Regions from separate parts of the Homo sapiens genome. Here regions 2, 3 and 4 are each linked to region 1. Evidence: promoter capture Hi-C in human tissues and cell types (Jung and others, 2019). All regions are on one chromosome and are shown on one strand. The core of a region is centred on a gene start or on the middle of the fragment in contact, and the rest is flanking DNA. Distances in the headings are between cores, read along the strand shown. Region 1 holds the start of SYT4 (synaptotagmin 4). Region 2 overlaps RIT2 (Ras like without CAAX 2). Region 3 overlaps RIT2 (Ras like without CAAX 2). Region 4 overlaps RIT2 (Ras like without CAAX 2).

Region 1 (2,520 bases), core at 12-2,511:
TAAAGTTTAAAAAAATCTGTTAGAGGAACACTCCAATGCCAAGTATGTGGGAGCAAATAGAATAGCAAAGAAAAAAGACTGGTTTATAAAATTTTCCATGATGCAAAGAACTGAAGCCAATTTCTCCCCAGACAGAGCCCTGATGCTCTGGGCTGCTGCTAGCCAATGTGCAGGGACCTGTCACTTGCACAGTAGCTTTCTGAGACTCACCCTGTATCCCTTCTCCCACATCCCAGCACACACTGAATGCCATTTCCTTATTAACTCCAGAGCAAAGAAATTCTTTGCAGAGCAATAATTGACAGTTGGAGTTACAGCTTGACTTCTTTCCTTTGAAAAATTGCTAAGCATTTGTTTTAGAAAGGCACACTCTTCAGATTCCAATGAATCAGAATCCGACACCATATTTTTCACAGTTTTTCACCTCCGAGAATATCATCAGTTTAGAAAAAGGAATGCTTTCCTTTGAAATAACCAATGTTACCAATGTTACTTTAGATGTTGGCCTGATTTTGGAAACTATTTTGTACAAACGTACTAGAAGTCAGGCCTTTTAACCATAAATGTCATTTCAGAAGCGCCTTATTATTTGCAAAAGTCATAACTGAGAGTGACTCTGAATATCCAAGGAATTATCCCCATCTGTTCCTAAGTGCTTTAACTGGTCAAATGTCAGATATTAAAGGGAAGAGAGCTGAGAGACCAGGAAAGATCAACTGTTCCAGCAAAATATTTAGACTAATAATTTATTAGAACATAAAGGATTATACTGGGAAAACTATCTTATATCAAATGCATCAATTTGTAGTGAATCTTTTCTAAATGTAATAAGTATCATAGGTATAACATGTCAAAGAAAAAAATTAAAAAGCAAGAAAACATGTTTTTGCATGTTAAAAAGAGTAATTTGAAGCAGAAACTTCTCCTCTGTAAGTTACGTTATTCTGAAAACTCAGAAACATATTTTTATTCATCTAGGTGATCAGGAGATTTTATATTAGGAACTGACAGGGATCAGTTTCGGGGCTTATCTCGGTGAGCCTCTGAGCCCCCACAAAACAGCAAAGCTAATCTCTAGTGGTCCAACAGTTAAAATAATTGATGAGCATGTGTTGAATCCTCAAGAGAGGAGGGAGGAAGCAAGAAGGAAAGCTTGAAGGGAGGAGGGGAGGGGGGCAGGTGCTGATTTCAGCCCTGTAGCGTCAGGATTGCGTCAATTCGGGTTCCAGCCACGTCTGGAGTCTCGGAGACGAGCTTCTCAGAAGAGCCAAAACAGGAACCGAGGTGGCAAATCACTGTGCGAGGGCGAGTGGACCTCCCTCTTTGCCTCCTCCCTGTTCCAGGAGCTGGTGCCCTGGGCTCTGCGCTGTTGTTTTCAGCGCTCCGAAAGCCGGCGCTTGAGATCCAGGCAAGTGAATCCAGCCAGGCAGTTTTCCCTTCAGCACCTCGGACAGAACACGCAGTAAAAAATGGCTCCGATCACCACCAGCCGGGAAGAATTTGGTAAGCAAGTTACTGAACTTATGACTGCGGTTATTCCTTGAATACTCTGGGGTGGACTGTTTATTCATTTATTTTTTGCCCGGTTGTTGAATACAGATTTCCTAGGTAGTTAATTTAAAAGGAAAATGAGAATGGCAGTCAGGCAATTGTGGCTTATTTCTGCAGCTTCTCTCCCTTCCTTGGTATCTCTCTCCCTGAAACTGTCTTCTGTTAGGGAGAATTTACCTTCAGGAAGTTCTTAAATTTTCAGGTACTTCTGTAAATTGCAGCATGTACTGAGTAAAGAAAAAGGGGTCTGTTTTTCCCATGTTGGTTTCATCTATTTTGTAGGTGATTCTTATTTGTAGGTAAATCTATATTTTATTAGGAGAAGATAAATATATCTCTGGTTACATTGGGGTTTGATCTTGGTTAAAAAAAGCAACTTGTCTATTGGGGTTTGGCAATGTATATTTTATTACAGGGCGTACCATATGGGTGTTTTTCTCTGCTATGTTTTTCTTGTATCCTTGAAATATGTTGCTAGTGAAAGACAGAATCATATGGTAGCAGGGTTAAAGAGAGTTTCAAAATGAACTGGCTCAGCCCATTTCATTTCACTGCTGAGCTAACCAAAGCCCAGAGAGATGAGGGAAGTATTATAGGTTGCACAATTAGCTAAAAGCTGCTGGAAACTTGAATTAGGGCTCCAATTTTCCCGTTCAGTTTTCCTTTTCTCACACCAAGTTTTTGGTTTCAGTACATAAAATTAGACGTACTTCATAGAGTAAAAAAGTACTATTTTTAGATCTCAGTATATTCCAAAGGAAAAAGGTCAGAATTTTACTTACACGTATTTTTTAAATCATGAAATTTCATAGAAGGTTGTGAAGAGGAGTGATATCTACAGATGTGTGATAATTGTTATTAAGCTGAGTAAAATAACTATGATCTTGACTTTCAAGATTGTAAGACCTTATCAGTAGAGAATACATAGGGAGTAGATAAGTGTTTCCACGTTATAGAAAATGTTTGCCA
Region 2 (2,520 bases), core at 14-2,513, 480 kb after region 1:
GATACAGAGTGTCGATTGGTGCATTCACAAACCCTGAGCTAGACACAGGGTGCTGATTGGTGTGTTTACAAACCTTGAGCTAGATACAGAGTGCCGATTGGTGTATTTACAATCCCTGAGCTAGACATAAAGGTTCTCCAAGGCCCCAACAGACTCAGGACCCCAGCTGGCTTCACCCAGTGGATCCCGCACCCGGGCTGCAGGTGGAGCTGCCTGCCAGTCCCGTGCCGCGCCCGCAGTTCTCAGCCCTTAGGTGGTCGATGGGACTGGGCGCCGTGGAGCAGGGGGCTGCGCTCATCCGGGAGGCTCAGGCGCACAGGAGCCCATGGAGGGGGTGGGAGGCTCAAGCATGGCGGGCTGCCGGTCCCGAGCCCTGCCCCGCGGGAAGGCAGCTAAGTCCCGGTGAGAAATCGAGAGCAGCGCCAGTGGGCTGGCACTGCTAGGGGACCCAGTACACCCTCCACAGCCGCTGGCCCGGGTGCTAAGTCCCTCATTGCCCGGGGCTGGCAGGGTCGGCCGTCTGTTCCAAGCCCACGCCCACCCGGAACTCCAGCTGGCCCGCAAGCACTGCACGCAGCCCCGGTTCCTGCTCGCGCCTCTCCCTCCACACCTCCCTGCAAGCTGAGAGAGTGGGCTCCGGCCTTGGCCAGCCCAGAAAGGGGCTCCCACAGTGCAGTGGTGGGCTGAAGGGCTCCTCAAGTGCCGCCAAAGTGGGAGCCCAGGCAGAGGAGGTGCCGAGAGCGAGCGAGGGCTGTGAGGACTGCCAGCACACTGTCACCTCTCAGTGCGACCAGGAGCGGATATGGGTCCTCTTGCCCATCTCTCTCCTTAGTTTCAAAAAAAGAAAAACATTTAAAATGTTAGTGTCAATTTTTCTACTGTCTTTGACATATTAAAGATTTTTTTCATGGAAAAGAAATGTCATAAGTAAATGGTATGTGCCTCTCACCAGTGTCAACTTATCTGGCAATTATTTTTATCATTTTTATTGTGCATTATTTCTCATCAGGCTAAAAGAAAAATTAGCAAGGCAGTCCTCAAAGATTTCTCATTCCTCTTTTGATAAATAACATGCTATAAATCAGCTTTTACTGCATAATATGAACTGTTTCCTATAATAAACGTGCACCATACAATAATTCCATCACTTTTATTAGCTCTGAGGGTTTTAAAAAATTATTTCAGCTGTTTGCACAGACATCCATGTGAAATATTTTTTTAAATCAGAAGTAGAAATCAGAGATATAAACTGTGTCTCTAAGATTTAACTATCTGTATTAACCTTAAAAAATGTAAGCTCATGTTTGCTTATGTTTCTAGCTTTGCAAGAGAACTGTTAGGAGAATTTTGGAAGATGTACTGTAGAAGCAAGCATTGTAATTAATGCAAAACTGATTCACTAATTAGTCAAACCTAGATTATTCAATGATCTATACCTTTCAATATGATATCATATAAATGACTTATTTTATTTGGGCTAGGTTGATATTGCCTACTTTAAAAATGAAGATTCCAATGATTGAAAAGATTAGTGGCTTGTCTGATGCTACTAAGTCAGGGAAGAACCATGGCTACAACATTGCTACAACATTGCATTCTTTATGCCTGGGGAAGTTCTGACTGCTTGTGTCTGCTAGGCAACGTGTGGCCTAGCACCCTGCAGGGCACTCTGGAAGGAGGAAAAGAAGGAGTGCCTGGCCTTACCTTCACCAGAAAGAGTGAACTGTTTTCTTGGAGGAAAATAGAATGTATGCTTATGAGATAACCGCATTCTTTCTTATACTCTAGTTAAATAGTGAACTTGGGAGCACAGAAAATTTAAGTATACGACAGTCTCAGGAAAAAAAAAAAGTTAATTGTAGGGTGCTAATGAGAAATTGTAAGGGATTTGGATATGAGAGAAGGCTTTTCCAAAAGTCATTAGGGTGTCCCAGAAAATGTGGAAAGAAAAAGTCAAGAAAGTTTTTGGTTAATCTTGATACCCATCTTCCTCTATCAAGTAATAAATAACAGGAGTAGAGGAGTAAAAATTAATCATGATTCAAAAATAGTATTTGACCCAGTGGATCACTCTTTTCTCCTTAGAATACTTCTTGCTTTCACTTGAATGTTTACTTTGAAGCTTCTGTCTACTCCTTCTTAGTCTTTTTTCCCTTTGGGTTCTCTTTATCTGTCCAACTTCTAAATTTGGAATGCCCAGGTCTCAGTCCTCAGGCCTCTTTGTTTGTTTGTTTGTTTGTTTTCTAACTGTACTCACTTATTGGGTGATCTCATTCAGTTTCATGACTTTATTTGGCATTAATATGTTGAAGTCCCCCAGATTTATTTCCCTTAATGAGACCTTTTCCTTAAACAAGAACAAAGAAAGATGACTGGCTGAGAAGTCAGAATAGGATTTATGTAATAGCTATATGGAATCTGAGCTGATTTAAAATGATAGTGTAGGTTCTTAGATACAGAGGAAGAGTAGATGTATGAGGGATGATTAAAAATGCCTGTGTACTGTTCAACAGGCCAAGA
Region 3 (2,520 bases), core at 6-2,505, 300 kb after region 1:
TAAGTGAGGCAGACACAAAGAACTGGAGACATTCAGCATCAGTGACCGTGACCTAGTCCTGTTGCTCATATTTATTTGGCAGAAGACAGCCAGGGAATTAGGTTTCCAATGGATCCTTCTACTCTCTCAGGTTGAAAGGAAAAGATTAAATGTTTCTAACATATGAGAGACACACTGAAGCATTTTCTGTAGATAATGACTTTGGGGAAGAGCAGTCATTTGGCTGTTCCTTCTGCATACTCTTGCCAGGGCTACATGTCCCCTCATCAGAAGATCAGTATATTCCTTATCAAATACATCTCCATCTGCTTGTCCTTGATCTGATAAGTCATTGTTTAAAATGACATCTTCCAGTAGTGGTCCTCTGTACCTGCAAATCTCCAGGTAGGGTTCTGTGTCTCCACAGGACACACCCCAGCTTGCCCTTCCTCATTGGGTTTTCTGTTCTTGGCAAGGCCTCCTGCAGAGGAGTCCAGGGGCACAGACATTCTGACAAGCATGTTAGTCACTGGAGAATCTGCCTGCAAACACCACAGAAAGTGTGTGATTGGCCACTTTGGGCAGACTTTCCAGAGCAGTAACACTGGGAATCTCCGGGGGGTATCAGAGAGATACTGATTGGTATCAACTACCCTATTACCTACCTAGTGGTAGTGGGGTAGTTGACACCAATCAGCATCCCTCTGATACTAGGGAGATTCCATCTATATAAATAGATGCTAGTGGGGTAGTTGATTTCTGGGGGAAAGATTTCAATTGCTGTGTAAGTCAGATATCATCTGGAAGCTCCTATTTCTCAGAGACCTAAGTAAACTGTACTGAATTCTCAATATTACAGCATGAGAAAAAATCCATGCTCTGCCTTATAATTCCTGTGAATTTCTAGGGTTTAGGTCCTTGTGGTACCCTGTCTTCAGCTTTTACTTCTATGATAGGAAAGGTTGTTCTTCTTTGCCCTGAGTCGTCCCACAAACTCAGTTCAGCCAGTTTTACAAGCCTTTTTCACAGCCAACAAACAGGTAGACTTTTATGACATTTCACTGAATGTTTAGGCCCAAAGGAAGGGTTACATCAGATCTCATGCAACTTCTTTTCTCTTTTCGTGGCAGAGCCCTCCTTGTCTTCCTCCTTCCTAACTCTGTTTTCAATCCATCACTTGAAGAACTGACCTTAGCTCAACATCAGTTCCTCTGAGTGTTCTCTGACATCTCCCTAAATAAGCACCCTTCAAAGTACTTCTAATGTAGCACTCATTAAAATACAGTGCAATTGCTTTTTTATGTATTCCCACAAGATTATAAATTCAATGTGGGTGGAAACCACCTGGCTTTTTCAGTTGTGTAGACTGTATTGCCATCTGAGTGTGCAGCACCTATTACATACTCAAATACATATTGAACCCTTTATTGATCAATATATTGATACATACATTAGATTTGTATCAATGCTGATTCATCCAGGATTTAACATTTTGGTCAAGAAAAAGTGTGCAGCACAGTACGTTGCAAGATACTTCTGCTCTGTACACACAGACACACATATGTACCTACAATTGAGATGATTTATTCAAGTAATCCTTTGAGAAAGATCTTATAAATTGATTCTATGAGACTTTGTACTATTTATTGCCTTTAAAAAATTTGGGTCAGTGATTAATATCTTGGAGGTGTATAATAGCTTGGAGTTATAGAAAAATAGCTTCATTGTAATATGAATTATATATTTCAGATTATGAGGTAAACCATGTAAGAAGTATTCAATCATCTTAAGATATTTGAAAATCATTTAATGAAAATTTACCATTAAATTTCTGATATTTTTTTCTTAGTTATATATTTTGGTGGTCTTATATTATCCTAATTTTATATTTGCAACTAAAATATTTTAAAATTATGTAAATGAATATGTTTATTCTGAAAAAAATACATTAGCTGCTTTGGGAAAATTATCCAGAATACCTTACACTTTTTAATTAATCAAAAACTTTATATTTCTAGTTATTATTGCAAACATATCTTGCCAAAAAGTTTATGATTTACTTGGGAAAAACATTTCCACATGGGTAAATATAAATAGCAGAAATAATTTAGTTTTAATTTAGTTTCATGGCTAATTTGAAGCAGTACTAAATAAAACTCATAACATAATATTCCTTGAGTTTGAATTTTGCTTTCTTTTTTCAAAAGCACTGTCTTATGTGCTACTTTTGTTGATCCTTATAGAACTCCCATGCGTTGACTAGTGTTACTATTATCGCCATCTTACAAATAAGGTTTCATGGCCAACCAATAACAGATATTTAGTGATAGATTTGAGGCTTTAATATAGGTCTTTAGTGATTTCTTCTTATGCAATTCTGCTGAAGAGGGACAGTGGAGAAGATATATCCTGAGAAGCAATGATCTCAAATTAAACATTAGTACTTTGAGATAAATTTTAAGGTAGTGGATGCCTCCAAGAATGCAGTCCTAGTGTGCTTTTCTGCGCAAATGATACAGCAGGCAGCTGCTACCATTTCTG
Region 4 (2,520 bases), core at 8-2,507, 260 kb after region 1:
ACTCTGATCACTCTTCGCGTTAGGGGCAGTGTGAGGGAAAGGGAGTCAGAGGGATAAGACAGTGAACTGAACTGTGTGATTAATTTTACAAATTTTACAAGCTGTTTGACCTTGAGCCCAACTTACTAGGGCACCCCCTTACTAACTCTTTATGTGGTACAAAAAAAGGAAGAAATTTCACATCAGAATAAACTTAGTAACACTGCAGTCTACTTTCTTACTCTTGCAGTAAACGTGTGTGTATCAGGTTGCAAAGACAATTTTCTTCCTATATTCACCAAAATTACTGATTCACTGTAAATAATCAAAACCTTCTAAAACTAATGGCCAGCCCTACCAGCTCACAGATGGATGTTTGATGCATCTGGCTTTAAGTAGCATGTGACTGTCATCTGTGTGATGCTGGGAAGATAACTACATTTCTACATATGATTTACTGAACTCTATTTCTCCAAATGAAAAATGGAAATAATAACTCTCCCTACCACATAAGTCTCCTGTGAGGGTTAATTGAGATAATAAATGTGAAGTGCTTAGCCTAGAACCTGGCATACTGTAACCATTTCCTAATTCTAAATACTAACTACTACTGCTAAGTAATGTAATAAAAACAATGTTATCATTATTCTTTTAATATCGTTTTCAGATAGTACTATAACCAATGAAATATTTAGTTAACCATCTTTGATGCTGACTAAATTCAGAAGCTAATTAAAATAAGTGCTGGTCAACCTAAATAACTAAGCAAACATGAACCAATTGTGTTATGAAATCAAATTACTTATATTTATATTTTGTATTATTTTAATAGCTTATTTTTAAAGATATCTTTTATTATTTATTGACTCCTAATAAGCCAATTATGTAAATAATTAGAGTGAGAAGAAAAGTATTCATGTAGACATGACCTACATATTGACTGATTGCTGATGAAAGCAAATTGAGATGTAAAAGCTATTTTAAGCGTACCTAAAATGAGCTAACAAAGTGTGCATTTGCCTCTCCCAATTTGTGTAATTATCATTTTTAAAATGTAGAGTGTGAAATATTCTACTTAGGGATACATTTAAAATTGTAACATACCGCTCAGTACTTTCAATGATTTAGTGTAATTTAGACACATTTACCTAGTGCCATATATTTAGAAGTTGGTAAAACTAGGATCCTAATCCATAATTTTTGACCCCAGTGTCAGAGCTGTTTACAATTACCTTTTAATTTTTGGCCTCTTCAAAGAAGAGCTTTGTTATTAGCCATGGCAGATTCTGCTTAAAGCTTTTAATTTAACTAATGTAATTTTAACTACTATGTTGATATGGTTCCTGGTGACTAAGGAGGACAACATTCTGACATTTCACACTGAAGTTGTCCATATTAGTATGCATTTATTCAGCACGAAGTGAGGACATGGAGAAAAATATTTAGAAATATTTGGTTAGTCAGATTCATGGTAAATAATCAAATTGAATATGTCAATTTTCCATATTCTATAATTTGACTTTCTCTGATTAAAGATAGTCCCATAATGTGCATTCTCATTAGTACAAAGATAGATAATTTTCTTTAACTTTGAATATTTCCTGGACGCAGTCATTTAGAGTTGGTGTGCTTATGACTTACCTGGGGCAGAGGGTGGGGGGATAAAACGTCTTATTTTATAATGTTTTAGTATGTTCTGTACATTTAGAATTTATATGATGAAAAGGGACTGAATTAAATATCAGAAAAGCAGAGTCCAAATTAGTTGTCCTTCTCTGCAAGTTATTGATCCAATCTGAGCCTTTTTTTCTTATTTGTAAAATAATGCCAGCCATATTTATTTTTAAAAACAAAAATGAAACTGTTTTGAAGCTAAAATTAACTATGTAAAAAGCAATTTAAAACCTATCAAGCACCACACCAATGGAAGCAACAATTCGTGTGTATTAGAAAACAACTAAAATTTATTTTATCTTTCTATTTTTGTCAGTCATGTGAAATGATAGGAAACAAATCTTCCAGATGCATATAATCTGTGAAAGTCATAAATAAAAGTTGATGCATCTTCATGCTTACTTGACTATTTGATGCTTTTGTACATTAAACAAATTCTCACTTTTTTAATTAGAAGCTGGATAGTAGCATTTTTTAAAAATGTATTTATTTTCCTAATGTCCTTACATAGTCATGCACCTAGGAATAATTAAACCTTCATTAGTCAAACCAAGTTAACTAACTGGAAGCTTCTCAGCAGTTGAATATATGAGGCCATAGGAGACTGTTTAAGATAGACAGGGGTTACAAGTATCAGCACGTGAGTGGTGTTTTTACTTTAAGCTTCCATATACTGTCATATTTTGTGCATGATAGCCAGTCAATGTTTTACTCTACTTCTAAGAGGTAACCAATACTGGTGATTATGCCCTTTTTGGGGGAAGCATTCTTTTCTTTTGTCTTCTTCAACATAATCCCACAGCTTATGGCTCATTACTTATTTTCAGGCACTGCTCTGCTGCTTTTGGAAACTCATTCTGGGATATC

What was found. The method cuts DNA at HindIII sites, captures the fragments that hold promoters and counts their contacts. A contact is called where the count stands out against the background at its distance.
Region 2: a contact is called between a fragment that was not itself captured here and the fragment with the promoter of SYT4 in region 1, in 3 of the 25 tissues and cell types used here (dorsolateral prefrontal cortex, mesendoderm cells and thymus).
Region 3: a contact is called between a fragment that was not itself captured here and the fragment with the promoter of SYT4 in region 1, in 5 of the 25 tissues and cell types used here (dorsolateral prefrontal cortex, hippocampus, mesendoderm cells and 2 more).
Region 4: a fragment that was not itself captured here is called in contact with the fragment with the promoter of SYT4 in region 1 in 2 of the 25 tissues and cell types used here (dorsolateral prefrontal cortex and hippocampus).

The regions. Positions count from the first base shown.
Region 1 is chr18:43,276,231-43,278,750 of GRCh38, reverse strand. It overlaps SYT4 (synaptotagmin 4), which reads left to right and starts at 1,261. Exons shown (of 4, transcript NM_020783.4): 1 at 1,261-1,503. The coding sequence starts at 1,470. The HindIII fragment of the contact is 4,332 bases long and covers 1-2,520 here.
Region 2 is chr18:42,793,330-42,795,849 of GRCh38, reverse strand. The region is part of intron 4 of RIT2 (Ras like without CAAX 2); the gene reads left to right. Among named protein-coding and RNA genes, the nearest start is that of RIT2, 320 kb to the left of the region's middle. The HindIII fragment of the contact is 4,951 bases long and covers 1-2,520 here.
Region 3 is chr18:42,978,611-42,981,130 of GRCh38, reverse strand. All of the region lies in intron 2 of RIT2 (Ras like without CAAX 2), which reads left to right. Among named protein-coding and RNA genes, the nearest start is that of RIT2, 140 kb to the left of the region's middle. The HindIII fragment of the contact is 7,856 bases long and covers 1-2,520 here.
Region 4 is chr18:43,015,681-43,018,200 of GRCh38, reverse strand. All of the region lies in intron 2 of RIT2 (Ras like without CAAX 2), which reads left to right. Among named protein-coding and RNA genes, the nearest start is that of RIT2, 99 kb to the left of the region's middle. The HindIII fragment of the contact is 4,069 bases long and covers 1-2,520 here.